Linked DNA regions of Homo sapiens: all the other regions are linked to region 3. The links are contacts of gene promoters, found by promoter capture Hi-C in blood cells and fetal thymus (Javierre and others, 2016). All regions are on one chromosome and are shown on one strand. The core of a region is centred on a gene start or on the middle of the fragment in contact, and the rest is flanking DNA. Distances in the headings are between cores, read along the strand shown.

Region 1 (2,752 bases), core at 251-2,750, about 15 Mb before region 3:
CCGGAAAAATCTAAAGCAGTGTGTGGGCACTAAAGCTATGGAGGCCACCTGGGTATCAGAGGATGTTGGCCCAGGAGCTGGGGCCGGGGGTTTAACGTTTGTGCAGGGTGATGTCTTCAGGCTCCAGACCCTTGTGAGGCAGGGATTAACTCAACAAATACCATCCTGACTACAAGGTGGGCACTAGAAACACTGTTCACCAGCCCTGGGCATGAAGAAGCTTGACCTCTGTCTGGGTCCCAGGAAAGAAAGAAAGAAAGATAGGGAGAGAGAAAGAAAGAGAGAAGGTAAAACCCAAAACCTGTGTCATTCTACTTACATGCAGTGGGAATTCTAATCCAAGTAATTAAAATAAAAACAAATCCAGAGATGGTGACAAGTGATTCAAGCAGAGGAAAAAGCAGAACTCTGGAGTGCATTTCCATAAGCAAAAACACATAAATACCCTGCTCCTCCTGCCCCAATTCACAGTGACGATCCATACAACCAAGCAACCCACCTTGAGAAAGGGGCAGCAGATGCACGTTATAGATTAGAAAATCAAGAACTGAAGTAAATGGAATAACTTAAGACAATAAAAAGTATATTTGCAAGGCCAGGTGCAGTGGCTCACGCCTGTAATCCCAGCACTTTGGGAGGCTGAGGCAGGCAGATCGCTTGAGGTCAGGAGTTTGAGACCAGCCTGGCCAATATGGTGAAACCCCTTCTCTACTAAAAATACAAAAAATTAACCAGGCATTGTGGTGCATGCCTGTAGTCCAGCTACTCGGGAGGCTGTGGCAGGAGAATTACTTGAACCTGGGAGGTGGAGGTTTCAGTGAGCTGAGATCGCGCCACTGCACTCCAGCCTGGGTGACAGAGCAAGACTATGTATGTTTCAAAAATATATATATTTGCAATATCTAAATAGAAAAAAAAGAAGGTATGCAAAGTCCAAGATAATAATCCTAATGGCTAAAATGGGGAGGGGAGATGTTGAAAAGAAGATAATACTATAATACCAGTGGACAACAGTTTGGGACATGAGAAGAGAAAGATTAGAGTCAAAGTGCCATAAAATCCTTCCAATTTGGTAAGGAGGATAATGATATTGATTAATGTTAGACCTTAAATTCAAGTATGTGTTAAAAAATTAAAATAATAGAAACCTATTATTAGGTTTTATTTTTAACCTATTTTTCCATTAAAATAATAGAAACCTAATATATAACTTCTAAACCAATAGGCTACAAGAGGAGAAAATAATAAACACATAATCAATACAGTGAAAGGCAAGAGGTGAGAAAAGGCAAAGATGAAGCATGGCAAACAAAATAATGTAGTATACATATACTAAATATATTAGAAGTCTTAATAAATAAAGAAGCTTAAATTGCCTGTTAAAAGACAAAGACACTTAGACTTAATTTTTTAAAAATCCAGCTATCTGTAGTTTACAAGAAGCAAACCTAAAAACATTAAGACATCAAAAGTTAAAAATAAAGAGACAGAAAAATATAAACCAGTTACTAAGTGAAAGTTGATATTGATATATAAAATAGCAAATAAGATTTGAAGAAAAACATTAAAAATATGATTATGAGGAATCATGTTAAAAAGGAAAAATTTGCCAAGAAGTTACAATCATAAGCTTATATGCACCAAAACACAGACAATTAAAAATATAAAGCAAAAATGGACAGAAATGCAAAAAGTATTGCTTCTTTTCTTCTTCATGGTTTCATTTGGCCTGAGTGCTACAAAACTGTGTAGCAGTCAACTCAACTGAGGATGGCTTAACTCAGCTGAACCTACAGTGCAGAGCTATATCCACAGCCCTGTGCTGCCCTGGGGGAATTTAGATGGTTCTAACCAATCTACCAAGGAGGGGAGCAAAGAGTGAGGATGAAGAGAACTAATGAGAAAAAGGGAACGTCTACTATGTTTAAGACATTGTGCTAAGAACTAAGTAAACCTTCTTATGCAACCCCATAGAAATCCAATGAGGTTGGCTTGGTTACCCCAATTACTACTAGTAACCCCAATTTACAGAGTAGAAACCGAGCTTCAAAGATATTAAGTGACTTTTCAGAGGTCACATGACTGGGGAGCTATAGAGTCTAAATTGCAGTCATCTGACATAATCTCCATGAGGCTAGGGACCATATTTTCACTCCATATCCCTAGCATGTAAAACTATGCCTGGCACAGATTAGGCACTTGATAAATATCAGATGAATGAATGAATGCAGCTGTAATTCCAAGCCTGTGCATTTTCTATTATGCCAGAGCACCTACTCTGTTATCTCACTTACTCTTGGCTATCTATATCTTTATCTCACTCAGATCTCCTCTTCAAAAAAGGCATCTCCTCTCTCTAACCTGACCCATTTCCCCTCTCTCATTCAGAGTTGACAAAGGAGAGAGAAGAAAGCCCAGTTTCACAACAAGAGACCCAATTTCCTTCAAAGCTGGTGGTTGGGAAATGATGCTCCTGATAGCGGTTAAGGGAGATGGCAGGCACGGGGTGGCCCCCTGCACTGGAGATTTGCAAGAAAATGAATTTCCCATTCTCTTCTGCTGTCAGTTGCTGGTTACCTCCCTATCCTACAAGATCATGAGAAGACCCCTGGAAATGATGTGAGGACCATGAGGGATTAATATTTAAACACCAACTGAAGTGGCTCTGGAACCATACAAGTGGTGAGAAAATTCTTGGAGACAGAAGAAGTGTCAGAGGAATTTTAATTTGTCAGTATTTTTTGTACTTTTT
Region 2 (3,051 bases), core at 470-2,969, about 14 Mb before region 3:
CCTACTTCACATCTCCATGTCTTCGTCCAGTCTCCTTGGTCTGATTTATGAGTGACATATGTTTCTCGCAGTCTCTAACTTGTCTTTTAATTTGTTTTTTTCACTCTGTAGAAGCTTAAGGTTTTCATGTAATCAGATTTATCATTCTTACATGGCTTGGGGAGACAGTCACACCAAGATTACTAATCTATAATTCCCTTATAACTTTTTCTAATTTTCTTATAGGCTTAACTTTACATTTAGAGCTCTAATCCATCTGAAATTTATTTTCCATATGCTGTAAATTATTTAACTTCAATTCTTCCCAATTTTGTAGCCCATTGACCTAATAATATTAATTTTAAGCCATCCTTTCTACACTGATTTGAAATTGCACCTTTGTCACTCTCTGAATGACCACAAAAATGTGAGTCTGTTTCAGGGCTATCTGCAATACCTCTGTTAGATAACTATTAAAGTTTCTCTTCCTTTGTCTTTTTCAGATGTTAATGGCTAGTTACTCTTCAGATGAACTTAAAAATGGACTTGTCCAAGATTGACCTTGTGTTGGTAATTATTGAAGCTATGTAATACATTAAAGTATTCCTCTAATTTTTTAATATATTTGAAAAAGTCCATGCTAAAAGGTTTTTTTTAAGGATTGATTTGTCAAATCCCTTTGCAAATTCTTTTAAGATTTTGGTCAGAAATGAACTCTATTAATAGATTGAGTGCTGTTTCCGGTCATACCCGGAAGCAGGAGTTCAAGCCGCAGCTGGTAGGGATTGGCGGCTGCTGGCCATCTGAGTTTTATTAAAACTGCTCGCCGCGAAGCCAGTCTTCAGCCAGAATGTCCAGCAGAAACAACAACAAGCTGCCCAGCAACCTGACTGCAGTTACAGAATCTGATGAAGCGAGACCCACCACCCTCCATCTAGGAGTTTCTACAGCAGTATAATCACTACACATCCAATGTGGAGATTTTCAAATTGCAACCATATAAACCCGGTAAAGAACTAGCAGAGCTGGTGGTGTTTATGGCACAGAACGTCCTAAATATGTGCATCTGAATAATAGGAGAGAAAGAGAGAAACTTCAGAAGAGCCTTTGCTTTGTTATAGATTAGTTACTGCTACCCAGGGTATCTAAGTAATTTTCCTCAAGTGGTGAAAGATCTTCTGTCCTGTAATCATACTGTATTGGATCCAGATCTTCGAATGACATTTTGCAAAGCTTTGATCTTGCTGAGAAATAAGAATCTCATCAATCCATCAAGCCTGCTAGAACTCTTCTTTGAACTTCTCTGTTGCCATGATAAGCTTCTGCAAAAGACTTCATACACATATATCGTGACTGATATCAAGAATATAAATGCAAAACACAAGAATAAAGTGGATGTAGTATTGTAAAATTTCATGTATACCATGTTGAGAGATAGCAATGCAACTGCAGCCAAGATGTCTTTAGATGTTATGATTGAACTCTACAGAAGGAACATCTGGAATGATACCAAAACTGTCAATGTTATCACAACTGCATGTTTCTCTTAGGTCACCAAGATATTAGTTGCTGCTTTGACATTCTTTCTTGGAAAAGATGAAGATGAAAAACAGGCCAGTGACTCCGAATCTGAGGATGACGGACCAACAGCAAGAGACCTGCTAGCACAGTATGCTACAGGGAACAAAGTTCCCAAAACAAGAAAAAGTTGGAAAAGGCAATGAAAGTGCTCAAGAAACAAAAGAAGAAGAAAAAACCAGAGGTGTTTAACTTTTTAGCCGTTCACTTGATTCATGATCCCCAAGATTTTGCAGAAAAACTACTAAAGCAGCTTGAGTGCTGTAAGGAGAGGTTGGAAGTGAAGATGATGCTCATGAACCTCATCTCAGATTGGTGGGAATTCATAAGCTCTTCCTCTTCAATTTCTATCACTTTTTGCGAAGGTTTCTGCAGCCCCACCAAAGAGAAGTAACAAAGAACCTTCTGTTTGCTGCACAAGCATCTCATCACCTAGTACACCCAGCGATTATTCAATCATTGCTTATGACTGTGGCCAACAATTTTGTTAACGACAAGAACTCTGGAGAAGCCATGACAATAGGAATCAATGCTGTAAAAGAGACAACAGCTCAGTGTCCTCTGGCCATGACTGAAAAGCTTCTCCAAGACCTGGCTCAGTATAAAACACACAAGGATAATAATGTAATGATGTCTGCTAGAACTTTGATTCGGCTCTTCCGAACACTGAATCCTCAGATGCTGCAGAAGAAATTCTGGGGTAAGCCTACAGAAGCCTCCATAGAAGCAAGAGTACAAGAATATGGAGAATTAGATGCTAAAGGTTACATTCCAGGAGCAGAAGTTCTGGAAGTTGAGAAAGAGGAGAGTGCTGAAAATGATGAAGATGGATGGGAAAGTACCAGTCTCAGTGAGGAGGAGGATGCCGATGGCGAATGGGTTGATGTGCAACACTCTTCCAATGAAGAACAGCAAGAAATTTCCAAGAAGCTGAACACCATGCCCATGGAGGAGCAGAAAGCCAAAACTGCAGCCGTCAGCACCAGTCGAGTTTTAAGTTAGGAAGACTTCCAGAAAATCCGCATGGCGCAAATGAGAAAAGAACTTGACGCTGTCCCCGGGAAATCCCAGAAGAGGAAATATATTGAAATCGACAGTGATGAAGAGCCGAGGGGTGAATTACTTTCTCTTCCGGACATTGAACGCCTTCATAAAAAGCCAAAATCTGACAAAGAGACAAGACTAGCAACTGCAATGGCTGGAAAGACAGACCGAAAAGAATTTGTGAGGAAGAAAACCAAAGTGAATCCATTTTCCAGTTCAAAAAGTAAAGAGAAGAAAAAACAGAAGAACTTTATGATGATGTGGTATAGCCAGAATGTCTGGTCAGAAAATAAGCGTTCCTTCTGAGAAAAACAGTTGGCGCTGCGAGATGCCTTTTGAAAAGAGAAAAAGAATGAAGTAACTTCCCAGAAAGTTTTCCATTCCAAGAAGAATGCTAAGTTTGTGTCATTACTCTGAAAATTGGTAAATCAAGCATGTTTGTTTACATTA
Region 3 (3,061 bases), core at 547-3,046:
ATAGAACCTGACTTTATATTTGAAAAGAAGTTTATGAGTGTTTATTAATTTACTATGCTCCTTGTAATAAACATGAACACATTGATTACATATTTACTGTTGTAAATTTTGCAACATGCCATTAAGAACAAGGATGCGTTACAAAAATGAATGTGCGTGTACACATGGATATTTGTTTGTGATTTCAAGTCTCAAGGGAGTATGTGGACATCAGCTGAAAGTCACTGTTCTGCTTGTTAAGGTAGTAATTTAGGGGTTAGGATTGGATTTAAGGTTATGCTCATGACTTAATCCCAATGCTTCCCATGCCAAATGCTTAGGAGGTGCTCCTTGGATCTAGCTGCAATTTGCTTCAGGTGCAATGTGAGTGATAAATGAACTTGTTTCTGTCTGCATCCTGTTGGAACAGGAGGCTTGGCTTTTTCTCAGGCACCTCTTTTTTATTCATTCCCTTTAGGGTAATATAACTCTGTCTTTTCTGACGTTACACGACTTGTTGATTGTGTAGTGAAAACACATGAACTCAAAACATTTTTTAGCCTTAATTGCCTGTTCCTTATAAAGAGAAATATTAAACGTTTACCAATTTCATACATAGCATGCTCAGGTGAACTTTCCAATTAGCAACTTCTTTTACTTTGAAAATCTCATATATTTCTATGAAATATTACATATTTTATTAAATATTACATATTAGTCTAACGTAGTAGTAGTGGAATAGACGTGATCTTAAAATCTGTATTAGCTGTGTGATTTTTGACAAATAACTTTCCCTGTGTTTCCAATCATTTGAAAAAGGACTAAAAGTCCTAAGTGACTTCCAACATTAGCGATCTAATACCCTATCATCAAATCTGTATTTTCAGCTGAGAGCTTTAAACTTGCTGCTGTGAAGTTTAAGGGAAATAGCACCCATTATATATCAACCCGATCATTTTCTTCTGTCAGCAAAACTGCAGAGCCAGCTTGGGTTGTAGTAATACGGTGACCGCCATGTGAAACATGTTTCTTGGTGTTTTCTTTTAAAACTGCCAAATATAGACCTTAACCAGCTGTAAGGCAGTGCTTGAGGTGTGGAGACACCTGAGGAAGCTGTGGGCTTTCTCCCTCGAGGTGGGCCCACGATGAGTTTTAAGCAAGACGGGCAAGCAGTCACCTGGCACCAGGAAAAACTCCTTGCCCTCTGGAGGGAGTCGCCCCAGGAACGTGGGTTTTTTGTTCATATTTAAAGTTGAGTCCTCTAGAACCGAAGAGTCCCAGTCATCTGCCGAAGGTGCGCTCCCAGGCCCCCTGCTTGGGCGCGCCCACCTGGAACATGGGCGTAGAGCTATGAAAATGCAGACCCGCACAAGCGCGAGGCCACGCGGGGAGACCCCCGCCCGCCAGGAGTTGGGGCAGGTCCGGCCTGGGCGGGGGCGTCGGGGGAGGGGTGGTGACCCGGAGTCCCGCGCGGCAGGGGAGCGTCCCCCAACCCCCGGCAGGGGCGAGGGCCACCGCAGGTGGCGGCGTTGGCAGACAGGCAAGCGGGGACTGAAGCTCCGGGGTCCTTCCGGCTTTGTTCCGTCACGAGCCGAGCCCTCCTTTCCGGAGAAGCCAATTAGATCTCCGACGGAGGAATCATCCGACCTGCGTCCCCCACCCGGAGGGGGCTCGGAAGGGGCGGGGCCCAGCGCTTGGCTCCTCGGGAGCGCGGCCGCGGGCGGCGTGGGGGAGTCCCGGGCGCCGTCGCCGAGCCCGGCCCCGCCCTCGCCAGGCCCCGCCCTCGGGGCTTCCCGGGCGCGCGCAGCCCCGCCGTGTCCGCGCGCCACGCCCCCCTGCTCGCGGGCCGCGTGCGGAGCCGCGCGCCCGGGAGGCTCCGGGACCGTGGCGGCGGGCGGCGGCGGCGCAGCCCTCCGCGGGCCATGTCCTCTCCGGCGGTGGCGAGGACCTCCCCAGGAGGGAGTCGGGAGATGGCCCCAGCGCCGCAGGGCCGAGGCCGGTTCTGGGAAGTGGGCGGCGGCAGCGGCCATCGGCTGGAGCGCGCGGCCGCGGAGTCGGAGCGCTGGGAGCTGCTGCTCCGCCGCGGGGAGCTGCTGGCGCTGGGCGGCCACCTGAAGGGCGCGCTGGAGGCGTTCGCGGCGGCGCTGCGCCGCGGGGCCCCGGCCAGGCCCGAGTGCCTGGGCGCCCTGGTGGACTGCCTGGTGTTCAACTACCGGCTCCGCCACGGGCTGGGCTGGAGCGCGGCCCCGGTTGCAGGCGCTGACGGCGGCGCCGGCGGGCTCCTCAGATGCCTGGGCTGCCGGGGCTTCCTGAGCGAGCCGGTGACCGTGCCCTGTGGCCACAGCTACTGCCGCCGCTGCCTGCGGAGGGAACTCCGCGCCCGCTGCCGCCTCTGCCGGGACCGGCTGCCGCCCGCCACCGCCAGTGCCACTGATGCTGAAGGGACCGCCCCGCGGCCGCCGCCTCTGGCCGCCGCCATCGCCGCTTCAGACTTCAGAACCAGCGTCGTCCTCAACCACCTGGCCGAGAAGTGGTTTCCGGGCCAGCGCGAGCGGGCCCGGGCGGCCGGCAGGCTCGGGGAGCTACTGCACCAGGGGCGCTACCGGGAGGCCCTGGCCGCCGCCTGCGAGGCGCTGCGAGCAGGTGACCGCGCGGGGATGCGGCGGGGCCGGGCCGACCGCACCCTCCTGGCCCCGAGGGCCGGGGACCCGGAGCTTGTCTGCGCCCCGAGAGTCTCCTCTGCTTCCCCGGGGCCGCTGGGCCGCTGGCGTGTCGGGTCTCGGGGTGCTGGGGGGTGTGGGAGGGGGCGGCGCCCCGGGGTGCTTCGGTCATAATGGGGATCGCCCTGGGAGCCGACTGTGACGCGGCGCGGGGAGGGGCGCTCGGCGCGGGGTTCCCTCGGCCGCGGCCTGGCTGTCGGGCGCGCGCTCCCGGCGCGGAGTGGGTGACCTGGACCGAGGCCGCCCCGGCGCGGGATGGGTGGTAGCTGGGCTATCCCGAGCGGCCGCTCGCTTCCTGCCGCGCGCTTTCCGGGAATTGGCTCTCGGGCCGGGCCCGCCGCGGGGAAACGACTGCCGGGGCG

The links. The method cuts DNA at HindIII sites, captures the fragments that hold promoters and counts their contacts. A CHiCAGO score of 5 or more calls a contact.
Region 1: a contact is called between a fragment that was not itself captured here and the fragment with the promoter of LONRF1 in region 3, in 1 of 17 cell types (total B cells). The highest score is 10.4, in total B cells.
Region 2: a fragment that was not itself captured here is called in contact with the fragment with the promoter of LONRF1 in region 3 in 2 of 17 cell types (naive CD8 T cells and total B cells); the score reaches 9.6 in naive CD8 T cells.

What each region holds. Positions count from the first base shown.
Region 1 is chr8:27,357,257-27,360,008 of GRCh38, reverse strand. The region is part of intron 1 of PTK2B (protein tyrosine kinase 2 beta); the gene reads right to left. Among named protein-coding and RNA genes, the nearest start is that of PTK2B, 33 kb to the right of the region's middle. The HindIII fragment of the contact is 264 bases long and covers 1,369-1,632 here.
Region 2 is chr8:26,379,298-26,382,348 of GRCh38, reverse strand. It overlaps the pseudogene SDAD1P1. Among named protein-coding and RNA genes, the nearest start is that of BNIP3L, 2.2 kb to the left of the region's middle. RefSeq lists an enhancer at 1-818. The HindIII fragment of the contact is 838 bases long and covers 1,301-2,138 here.
Region 3 is chr8:12,754,261-12,757,321 of GRCh38, reverse strand. LONRF1 (LON peptidase N-terminal domain and ring finger 1) reads left to right here and starts at 1,796. Exons shown (of 12, transcript NM_152271.5): 1 at 1,796-2,622. The coding sequence starts at 1,902. RefSeq lists silencers at 1,298-1,967, 2,048-2,387, 2,391-2,581, 2,478-3,017 and an enhancer at 1,503-2,322. The HindIII fragment of the contact is 11,195 bases long and covers 1-3,061 here.